Regions from separate parts of the Homo sapiens genome. Here all the other regions are linked to region 1. Evidence: promoter capture Hi-C in 16 types of primary human blood cells and fetal thymus (Javierre and others, 2016). All regions are on one chromosome and are shown on one strand. Each heading gives the region's core, a stretch centred on a gene start or on the middle of the fragment in contact. The rest is flanking DNA. Distances are from core to core; before and after follow the strand shown.

The links. Contacts are between HindIII fragments. The CHiCAGO score rates a contact against its expected background, and 5 or more counts as called.
Region 2: a fragment that was not itself captured here is called in contact with the fragment with the promoter of LRFN4 in region 1 in 2 of 17 cell types (endothelial precursors and M2 macrophages); the score reaches 5.7 in endothelial precursors.
Region 3: a fragment that was not itself captured here is called in contact with the fragment with the promoter of LRFN4 in region 1 in 1 of 17 cell types (endothelial precursors); the score reaches 7.2 in endothelial precursors.

Annotation. Positions count from the first base shown.
Region 1 is chr11:66,855,814-66,859,240 of GRCh38, forward strand. It overlaps LRFN4 (leucine rich repeat and fibronectin type III domain containing 4), which reads left to right and starts at 1,251. Exons shown (of 2, transcript NM_024036.5): 1 at 1,251-3,280. The coding sequence starts at 1,932. All of the region lies in intron 12 of PC (pyruvate carboxylase), which reads right to left. RefSeq lists silencers at 337-866, 1,027-1,136. The HindIII fragment of the contact is 17,472 bases long and covers 1-3,427 here.
Region 2 is chr11:66,951,214-66,954,883 of GRCh38, forward strand. PC (pyruvate carboxylase) reads right to left here. Exons shown (of 23, transcript NM_001040716.2): 2 at 3,036-3,223; 3 at 1,217-1,255. Among named protein-coding and RNA genes, the nearest start is that of PC, 5.3 kb to the right of the region's middle. The HindIII fragment of the contact is 3,689 bases long and covers 1-3,109 here.
Region 3 is chr11:66,971,367-66,974,844 of GRCh38, forward strand. No RefSeq gene overlaps it. Among named protein-coding and RNA genes, the nearest start is that of C11orf86, 2.2 kb to the right of the region's middle. The HindIII fragment of the contact is 1,017 bases long and covers 845-1,861 here.

The DNA.
Region 1 (3,427 bases), core at 1-2,500:
CATCCAACTCTCCTGGCCTACAGGAGGAACTTGTTTTCAGTGGTCAGGTAACGTGCCCAGGACTACACTGCTGTGCTGACAGGATCAGAATTCCAATCTTGGGTTTCCCCGAGTTTCCTGCCACCTGGCCCATGGGGATCAGGGCTGGAGGGAGAACGAGGATGGCTGAGGTTTAGGTGGCTTAAGGACCAGGAGACACGGGGAGGTGGTGACTTCCTGTTTCCCAACTGGGCAGACCACTGGTGGTGGCGGGCACAGCTGGAAGGAAACCAGGCTCGCCGAGCCACCGAAGCCCCAGCTTTCTCAACCAGGAAGCAAAGAACCTCCCCCACCTCACGCCGGGAGCCCTTTCTCTGAGAGGAGCTGGTTCCGAGCCGCTCTTCCAGGGAAATGGCCCGGCGGCGACAGAGCGGGAGGGAGGGGCCGCAGGCGCTGCGAGGACGCACAGCTTCCCAATGCGTGCCCCCGGCGGTTGGGAAGCCGCGCCGCGCAGACCAATCCGGCCCGAGGCGGAGGCCGGTTGGCTCCGGAACGCCTGGCCCGCGGGGCGGGCGGGGCAGCTGGGGAGGGAGGGAGAGGCGAGAGGCAGCTGGGGACAGGGCGGGGCGGCGGGGGCGGGGCGCCTGCCCGGAGGCCAAGCCCTCTCGGCCCCACCCCGCAGCAGCCCTGCCAGGGGCGCCGCCCCAGCCCCCCCCACGGCCGAACCCCGTGCCGGTTGGGGACCCTCCACGTGACTCGGTGATGCAGAACGGTTATGACCTTCAGCGTGTGTCTGTGAACGCAAGGGTCCCAGCAACAGTGCGGGTTTGCGCTCGGCCCTGCCCGTGGGTGCAGGGACGTGTGGGTGTGTGGGCATGTGTGGGTGTGTTGGGGAGGGTGCCCAGCGACATGTGACAAAGACGCCCGTCTCCGGGAGATGGTGAAGGGGCCCGCGAGCAGGCGCTTTGTCTGGCTGTCTGCAGAGTGAGGTTCGCGCCGCGGCGGCGGGCGCCCGTGCGGTGCAGGATGCCGGGGCGCCAGGATGGCCGGGGGCGCGCGCGCCTGTGCCAGGGTGAGTGCGCTGCGGCAGCGCCGGGGGACAGCGCGGAGGGCCCGCGCCGGCCCGGGCCTCGGGCGTGACTGGGCGCCACCCGTGGGCGCTGCAGCGGCCGCGTGTCCCCGTGACCTCAGGAGCCGGCCCGGGCCCGGGTGGATCCCCGCGCGCCCCTCCCCGTCCGCCCTCCACGTGCGTGTCCGCGGCGCGCGCGCCCGCCGGCGCGCACCCGCTCGCCTGTCGCCGCCGCCACCGCTAACCGCGCCGGGAAAAGGTGCCGGGAACCGAGCGAGCCGGGGCCGCGGGCCCGAGCGCCATGGGCCCGAGGGTGGGCGGCGGGCGGCCGGTCATCCCCGGGCCTCGTCCCCGCGGGAGAGCGGCCAGGAGTCGGCGGGGGCCGGCCGGGCTCGCAGGGAGGCCGGCCCGCGCCCCCTGAGCGACGGACACCAGGTGAGGGGGCCGCCGGGCGCAGCGCGGGGGCCGGCCAGGGAGGGGCCACGGACTCCACGGGAGGTTCGGGGGGCGCCTTCTCTGGCGGGGGAGGGTATGGCGGGGAGTGGGGAGGCGGCTGGCGATTCCTGGGGACGCCTGGGAAAGGAAGTTCCGGGACCCTCCCTGCTCTCGGTCCTCCTCCGCTTCCTGCCTCATGCCTCACCTTGTCCCCAGCGCCTGGACTCCCCCTTAACTGCTTGGGAAATGTGACCTTTGCTCTGGGGGGCCTGGCCCTGCAGGCCCCAACCTTCCCTCATCTCTGGCGGCCCTCTTGGGCCTCTGACCCAGCCCCTCCCCGGGCCAGGCTCACAGAAGCTGGCTTCTGGGACTGTCCTGGGCCCAAGTGGGCACCTGCGCCAGCCCCACCTGTGCCTGGGCTGTGGCCCCTTCCTACAGGGCGCTCACCATGGCCCCGCCGCTCCTGCTGCTGCTGCTGGCCAGTGGAGCGGCCGCCTGCCCGCTGCCCTGCGTCTGCCAGAACCTGTCCGAGTCGCTCAGCACCCTCTGTGCCCACCGAGGCCTGCTGTTTGTGCCGCCCAACGTGGACCGGCGCACAGTGGAGCTGCGGCTGGCTGACAACTTCATCCAGGCCCTGGGGCCCCCTGACTTCCGCAACATGACGGGACTGGTGGACCTGACACTGTCTCGCAATGCCATCACCCGCATTGGGGCCCGCGCCTTTGGGGACCTCGAGAGCCTGCGTTCCCTCCACCTTGACGGCAACAGGCTGGTGGAGCTGGGCACCGGGAGCCTCCGGGGCCCCGTCAATCTGCAGCACCTCATCCTCAGCGGCAACCAGCTGGGCCGCATCGCGCCGGGAGCCTTCGACGACTTCCTAGAGAGCCTGGAGGACCTGGACCTGTCCTACAACAACCTCCGGCAGGTGCCCTGGGCCGGCATCGGCGCCATGCCTGCCCTGCACACCCTCAACCTGGACCATAACCTTATTGACGCACTGCCCCCAGGCGCCTTCGCCCAGCTCGGTCAGCTCTCCCGCCTGGACCTCACCTCCAACCGCCTGGCCACGCTGGCTCCGGACCCGCTTTTCTCTCGTGGGCGTGATGCAGAGGCCTCTCCCGCCCCCCTGGTGCTGAGCTTTAGCGGGAACCCCCTGCACTGCAACTGTGAGCTGCTGTGGCTGCGGCGGCTGGCGCGGCCGGACGACCTGGAAACGTGCGCCTCCCCGCCCGGCCTGGCCGGCCGCTACTTCTGGGCAGTGCCCGAGGGCGAGTTCTCCTGTGAGCCGCCCCTCATTGCCCGCCACACGCAGCGCCTCTGGGTGCTGGAAGGCCAGCGGGCCACGCTGCGGTGCCGGGCCCTGGGTGACCCCGCGCCTACCATGCACTGGGTCGGTCCTGACGACCGGTTGGTTGGCAACTCCTCCCGAGCCCGGGCTTTCCCCAACGGGACCTTAGAGATTGGGGTGACCGGCGCTGGGGACGCTGGGGGCTACACCTGCATCGCCACCAACCCTGCTGGTGAGGCCACAGCCCGAGTAGAACTGCGGGTGCTGGCCTTGCCCCATGGTGGGAACAGCAGTGCCGAGGGGGGCCGCCCCGGGCCCTCGGACATCGCCGCCTCCGCTCGCACTGCTGCCGAGGGTGAGGGGACGCTGGAGTCTGAGCCAGCCGTGCAGGTGACGGAGGTGACCGCCACCTCAGGGCTGGTGAGCTGGGGTCCCGGGCGGCCAGCCGACCCAGTGTGGATGTTCCAAATCCAGTACAACAGCAGCGAAGATGAGACCCTCATCTACCGGTGAGGATGCGTGCCCCACACCCGGCTGCACTCCCGGCGCCCTTCCTCCGCCCTCTGCTCCCCACAAGGCTTTGCTTCCACCCCTCCTCTCTCTGGGGCTGACACCCCCTCCCCGACCATGGCTGCTGGACTCTTGGAGGAGCAGTG
Region 2 (3,670 bases), core at 15-2,514, 95 kb after region 1:
GGAGAAAGTTGTCCCTGAGCCACAAAGTCCCCAAGGCCACAGCGGGCCTGAAGGGAAGAGCATTATTGTTGTCACAAATGCTGGGAGAGCACCTGGTTCCCTGGCTCGGCTGCTCCTGCAGACCAGCAGGGGGAGAGGGGACTGGACTAGCAGGGGACCGGCGGGAGGGCTGTGGAATTTAGGCTGAGGGGAGGCCACTGAATCTCCCAGGCACCTGCCACCATGGAAATCCATGTTGGGGGAACTGTAAAAGCAGTAGAGGCCGGACGCGCTGGCTCACACCTGTAATCCCAGCATCTGGGGAGGCCGAAGAGGGCGGATCACCTGAGGTCAGGAGTTCGAGACCAGCCTGACCAACATGGTAAAATCCCATCTCTACTAAAAATACAAAAATTAGGCCGGGCACAGTGGTTCATGCCTGTAATCCCAGCACTTTGAGGGGCTGAGGTGGGTGGATCACAAGATCAAGAGATTGAGACCATCCTGGCCAACATGGTAAAACCCCGTCTCTACTAAAAATACAAAAATTAGCTGGGCATGGCAGCACACACCTGTAGTCCCAGCTACTCGGGAGGCTGAGGCAGGAGAATTGCTTGAACCCAGGAGGCAGAGGTTGCAGTAAGCCGAGCTTGCGCCACTGCACTCCAGCCTGGCAACAGAGCAAGACTCCGTCTCAAAAAAAAAAAAGAAAAAAAAAAACTTAGCCAGGTGTGGTGGCACATGCCTGTAAAATGTGCAGGGGAAGAAGGGCAGGTCCCTTTTTCCCCGTTGTTACCGTGACTGGCAAAGGTTGAGCGTCACCCTCTGGAAACCCGTGTCAAGTGACTTTACAACCAGCTGGCAGAACCACCTCACACCACAGCTGCCTGCTCTCCATGCTGACTCAAGGGGTCTTCTCAGAGACGGCCCAGCCCCAGGGATTCTTCCTGCCCAGCTTCCCAAGCTGACCATACCCTTCCAGAACCAGGGCCTTCTGCTGAGGCTGGCCAGCTGCCAAATGGGGCCAGCAGGGAGCCAGATGTCACTTTCCTGTAAAAATCAGGAGCAACTGGAAACAGACAAGACTGCTTAAACGGATATTATCCACAAATCAGAGCGCAGCCTTTTTTTATTGATTGAGCTTAAGACCTGACATGCCAAACTGCTGGCATCCACAGCTGCTCCTGGTGAAGACCCCCATGCATCCCGCCAGCCTGGATTCAGGCACAGGACTTACCCTTAGTGTTTGGTCAGCTCTCCAGAAGGCAGACACTATCTAAAGCAAAAGAAAAAACAGCATTACCCTCATTGCTCCAGGAACTTCCCAGAGAAAACAGGAGTGGCAAGAACACCGATTTTAGAACCCAGAGAACTTTTTCAGTCTTGTTACCCGGGCTGGAGTGCAATGGCGCAATCCCGGCTCACTGCAACCTCTGCTTCCCGGATTCAAGCGATTCTCCTGCCTCAGCCTCCTGAGGTAGTTGGGATTACAGGCATGTGCCACCACGCCCAGCTAATTTGGTATTTTTAGTAGAGATGGGGGTTTCTCCATGTTGGTCAGGCTGGTCTCGAACTCCCGACCTCAGGTGATCCACCCACCTCGGCCTCCCAAAGTGCTGGGATTACAGGTGTGAGCCACCGCACCCGGCCAAGAACTGTTTCTTTGCTTCCACTGAGGGCACCAGGAGGGTACAGAGCTGGAAGCGCCAGCTGTGCTGTCCCACTGCCTGGACTGCACCTCTTGTTACTCTGACAGCCGCTCTGTAATCACTCAAAGTCTGTTTCCTCATCTGTAAAATGGGAATAATAACAATGCCCATCTCACAGCGTACTAGGGAATACCCAATGAGGCAGCACACGCACAGCAGTGGCACCATGCCTGGCACAGAGGACACACTGGGACGTTAACCGACAGGCTAGGTGGGAAGCGCTTAAGTAAAACCCTTTTCTGCCACCCACTACACATGAACAAGAAGTTCTAGAAACAGTTCGTTTTATCTGAAGTGCTTTCTCTTCCTGCCCACTCCGTCCAGCCTCAGGCCCGCTTTCTCTGCATCTCCGCAGAGCTGTCTCTAATCCTTCAGGAGCTCCCTCTGAATACTGGGAGTCTGGTTCTTCTCTCACTCCACAACTTGAAACTAATAAGGAGCTGTCTTACGTGACCTGAGATGTGTACTCTATTTCCTGGCTATTTCCTCAAATCCTTTCCTGCAGAGACCCCTCTCTGCCATAAGTAAGAGCCCACCTCGTGTTTATGCCCATGGGAGCCCACAGTTGGTATTGTGTAATCACTTTTCGGAGTTTTATTGACTGCTTATTTCCGAAAAAGCCACACCTACCCTAGCCACTAGTCAATGAACAGCAAAATGGAAAAACAGGCCAGCAAGCTCAAATCCCTGTTCAGAGAAAACCAGCTGCCTTGACAGATAACGTCAAGGCTGAAATTCAATGTCTGGGGCACTCAAGTCAATAAAATATTTATTGAGCACATGCCTTGCACAAGGAACTGTATGTACACTCAGGCCCTGCCCACAAAGTGCCAAAAAGCAAGTTGTTAGGGGCTGGTTAAAAGAAGCAAAAATGGGATGGCACGTGAGAGGGACTCCAGCAGTGAGCCACCTAGCCTGCCTGGCTGTGTTACTCTGGGCGTTATTTCACCTCTCTGAGTTTCACCTATGAGAGTCCGTCATTTGTAAGAGATGGATCTAATAGGACCTTCGTAATAGGATTGTTGTGATAATCACATTATGTGTATGTAAGGGGCTTAGCAAGGCCGTCACCACCACACAGTAGTTGACTTTTATTATTAATAACAATAAATCATTACTTATCATCATCGTTATGAAAAGAGAGCCCAGTCCAACTGAATAGATTTGGCAAGCCTTAATAAAGTCCTGTGTCTCGAAGAATAATTTAATTTTGACAGGACAAGATAAGAAGCAAGGCCCTGCAGAAAACAAAGTCAACAAGAACAAGAGCAGAGGGGGGACCGTGAGAAGTGAGTTTGGGGTAACAGTGACTAATCTCACTATGGGGGCTGACACAGAAGAGGGTACCTGCGGAGGCAAATGGAAGAAAGAGCCCAACAGGTGGAATCATATTAGAGAGTCTTGAACGCCAAGATGAAGCAAGCTTTTCATTCGGTAAGTAAGAGGAAATGGTTTATTCTTTTGGCCATTTCCCATCTTCCACCGTCAGGCCCGACTCCTTTGGCAAAGTGTCCACAGGTGAGACTAGAAGGCAGCTAAGAGAAAGAGAGGAAGGCACGGTCAGTCAGGCCCAGGTGAGGTTTCAGAGTGAGCAGGCAAAATGCCCTGCTGCTGTGAAGGAGGCCTCTGGGTGAGAAACCTGCCCCAAAGCAGGAACTTTCAGGATACAAGAAACGGGGCCCATTCAGATGGGGGCAGGACGATATTGGGAGGCAGCCAAAGAGAAGGCCATGCTCATCCTCAATGAAAATGTTGACCAGAGGCCGGGTGCAGTGGCTCACGCCTGTAATCCCAGCACTTTGGGAGGCCAAGGCAGGTGATCACCTGAAGTCAGGAGTTCGAGACCAGCCTGCCCAACATAGTGAAACCCCATCTCTACTAAAGATACAAAAATTAGCCAGGCAAAGGGTTGGTGCCTGTAATCCCAGCTACTCAGGAGGCTGAGGCAGGAGAATCACTTGAATCCGGGAGGCAGAGGCTGC
Region 3 (3,478 bases), core at 103-2,602, 120 kb after region 1:
TGGCCCTGAATAGGGGTGCCCTCTGCAGTACCCCAAACATGGAGGAGGCAGGACAGCTGGCTTCCAGTCCTGCCTCTGCTGCCGAGTCTGGGGAAGGAGACCTGAGTGACTGAAGCATGGGTTTTTAAAGCCCGGCTGACCAGGGTGGCCGACCAGCTCTGCCACTTAGTGGGCATGCTCTCCAGCCAGGTGCTTAATCTCCCTGATCCTCAGTTTTCTGATCTATAAAATGAGATGACAATCCCCACATCATAGGACTATCATGAGGTTTAAATGAAATCTGTGAAGGGGTTGACTCAAAACAGTGGTTAAAACAAAAAGGAGCTGGGTGTGATGGCTCATGCCTGTAATCCCAGCTAGTCAGGAGGCTGTGACAGGAGGATCACTTGAGACCAGGAGTTTGTGACCAGCCTGGGAAACATAGAGAAACCTTCTCTCTAAAATAAACAAAGAAATACATAATAAAAATAAAACAAAAAGGAGCATGGAACAGATGTATGAGGTCCCTTCAGCACTCAAATTCTACCATTCTGAGGCCAGGCGTGGTGGCACACTTTGGGAGGCTGAGGTGGGCAGATTGCTTGAGCTCAGGAGTTCAAAACCAGCCTGAGTAACATGATGAAACTCCATCTCTACAAAAAATACAAAAATTAGCCAGGCGTGGTGGCACATACCCGTAGTCCCAGCTACTCAGGAGGCTGAGGTGGGAGGATCACTTGAGCCCAGGTGGTCAAGGTTGCATTGAGCTGAAATTGTGCCACTGCCCTACAGCCTGAGCAACAGAGTGAGACCCTGTTTCAAAAAACAAAACAACCATTCTGAGGAATCTGCTGGCCCAGCCCCAAGCTTCTTTCTCTTCCTCCTGTCTTGGGGGAAAGAGTTGCTGCCAGTAGTCTCACCTTTAGAAGCATCCACACTCATGATTTCATCTTATTTTTGAAACAACCCATTTTACAGGCTGGGTGCGGTGGCTCATGCTTGTGATCCTGGCACTTTGGGAGACCGAGGTAGGTGGATCATGAGGCCAGGAGTTTGAGACCAGCCAGGCCAATGTGAAACCCCATCTCTACTAAAAATACAAAAATTAGCCAGGCATGGTGGCATGTGCCTGTAATCCCAGCTACTCGGGAGGCTGAGGCAGGAGAATCGCTTGAACCCGGGAGGCAGAGGTTGCAGTGAGCCAAGATCGCGCCACTGCACTCCAGTCTGGGCGCCAGAGAGAGACTCCATCTCAAAAAAAAATTTAAAAAGAAACAACCCATTTTACAGATGAGACTGAAAGGATCTGCCCACGGCAGTGAATACCACTGATATGGTTTGGATTTGTGTCCGCACCAAACTTCATGTTGAATTGTAGTCCCTAGCGTTAGAGGTGGTTGGCTCATGGGGGTGGATTCTCGTGAATGGTTTAGCCCCATCCCCTTGGTGCTGTTTTCATGATAGTGAGTTCTTGTGAGATCTGGTTGTTTCAAAGTGTGTAGGCTGAGCACAGTGGCTCACGCCTTTATTCCAAACACTTTGGGAGACTGAGGTGGGCAGATCACTTGAGCCCAGGAGTTCAAGGCCAGACTGGGAAATATAGCAAGATCCTGTCTCCACCAAAAATACAAAAAATTAACTGGGCGTGGTGGCAGGCACCTATAGTCCCAGCTACTCAGGAGGCTGAGGCACGAGAATCACTTGAACCCGGGAGGCGGAGGTTGCAGTGAACCAAGATCGCGCCACTGCACTCCAGCCTGGGCGACAGACTGAGACTCTGTCTCAAAAAAAAGTGTACAGCACCTCCCGCCACGCTCTCTCTTTCTCCTGCTCCTATCATGTAAGATGCCTCATCCCCGCTTTGCCTTCCACCACGGTTGGAAGCTTCCTGAGGCCTCCCCAGCAGCAGAAGCTGCTATGCTTCCTGTACAGCCTGCAGAACCATGAGCCAATTAAACTTTTTGTCTTTATAAATTACCCAGTCTCAGGTATTTCTTATTTTTATTATTATTATTTTTTGAGACAGATTCTCTCTCTGTTGCCCAGGCTGGGGTGCAGTGGCGCAATCTTAGCTCACTACAACCTCCGCCTCCTGGGTTCAAGCGATTCTCCTGCCTCAGCCTCCCGAGTAGCTGGGATTACAGTTGCCCACCACTACACCTGGATAATTTTTTGTTTTGTTTTGTTTTGTTTTGAGACGGAGTCTTGCTCTGTTGCCCAGGCTGGAGTGCAGTGGCACGATCTCGGCTCACTGCAACCTCTGCCTCCTGGGTTCAAGCAATTCTCCTGCCTCAGCCTCCCGAGTAGCTGGGATTACAGGCACACGCCACCATGCCTGCCTAATCTTTGTATTTTTTCAGTAGAGACGGGGTTTCACCATGTTGGCCAGGCTGGTCTCAAACTCCTGACCTTGTGATCCACCTGCCTCAGCCTCCCAAAGTGCTGGGATTACAGTTGTGAGCCACTGCAACCTGGCCTAATTTTTGTATTTTTAGTAGAGAAGGGGTTTCACCATATTGGCCAGGCTGGTCTTGAACTTCTGACCTCAAGTGATCTACCCGCCTCAGCCTCCCAAAGTGCTAGGATTACAGGCATGAGCCACTGCTCCCAGCCTCAGGTCTTTCTTTATAGCAGCAGGAGAACGGACAAATACAACCACCAACTCACTTTGTTCGAGGGCTTGCTGTGTGCCAAGCCCTGTGGACCACATTTAATACGCACAACAATTACCCAAGTTATTTGTCCCTCTTACGAATGAAGGAGAAAAATGTGCCCAAGGTCACAAGGCTGCAAGGAATGAAGCTACAGTTTACCCAGAGGCAGTTGGTCCTCAGAGCTTGAGTGCTCAAGGATAGTGCTGTGCTGCTGGGACATTAGGGGCAGCGCTGGGCCTGGAAAAAATCCAGGCCTCCTGACTCCTAGCCTGGAGCCGTCCTGTTTCCTTCTGTTTCTTAAAAAAAAAAAAAAAAAAAAAGAAATTCTCCAGTATTGTATAACACATATACCATAAAGTTTACCATTTCAACCATTGTTGTGCAACCAATCTCTGGAACTCTTCATCTTATGAAATCTGAAAATTTACAGCCATTAAATTCTTCATTCCTCCCTCCCCCAGTGCCTGGCAACGGCCATCCTCCTTGCTGTCTTTGTGAATGTGATTGTTCTAGCTTGGAGCCATACTGATGCTTTTTTGAAAAATATATTTCTTTTTGAGACGCAGTCTTGCTCTGTCACCCAGGTTGGGTGCAGTGGCACAATCTCGGCTCACTGCAACCTCCGCCTTCTGGGTTCAAGTGATTCTCCTGCCTCAGCCTCCTGAGTAGCTGGGATTACAGGCGCCCGCCACCATGCCCAGCTAATTTTTTGTATTTTTAGTAGAGACGGGGTTTTACCATGTTGGCAAGGCTGGTCTGGAACTCCTGATCTCAGGCAATCTGCCTGCCTCGGCCTCTCAAAGTGCTAGGATTACAGGCGTGAGCCACCGGGCCTGGCCCAATTC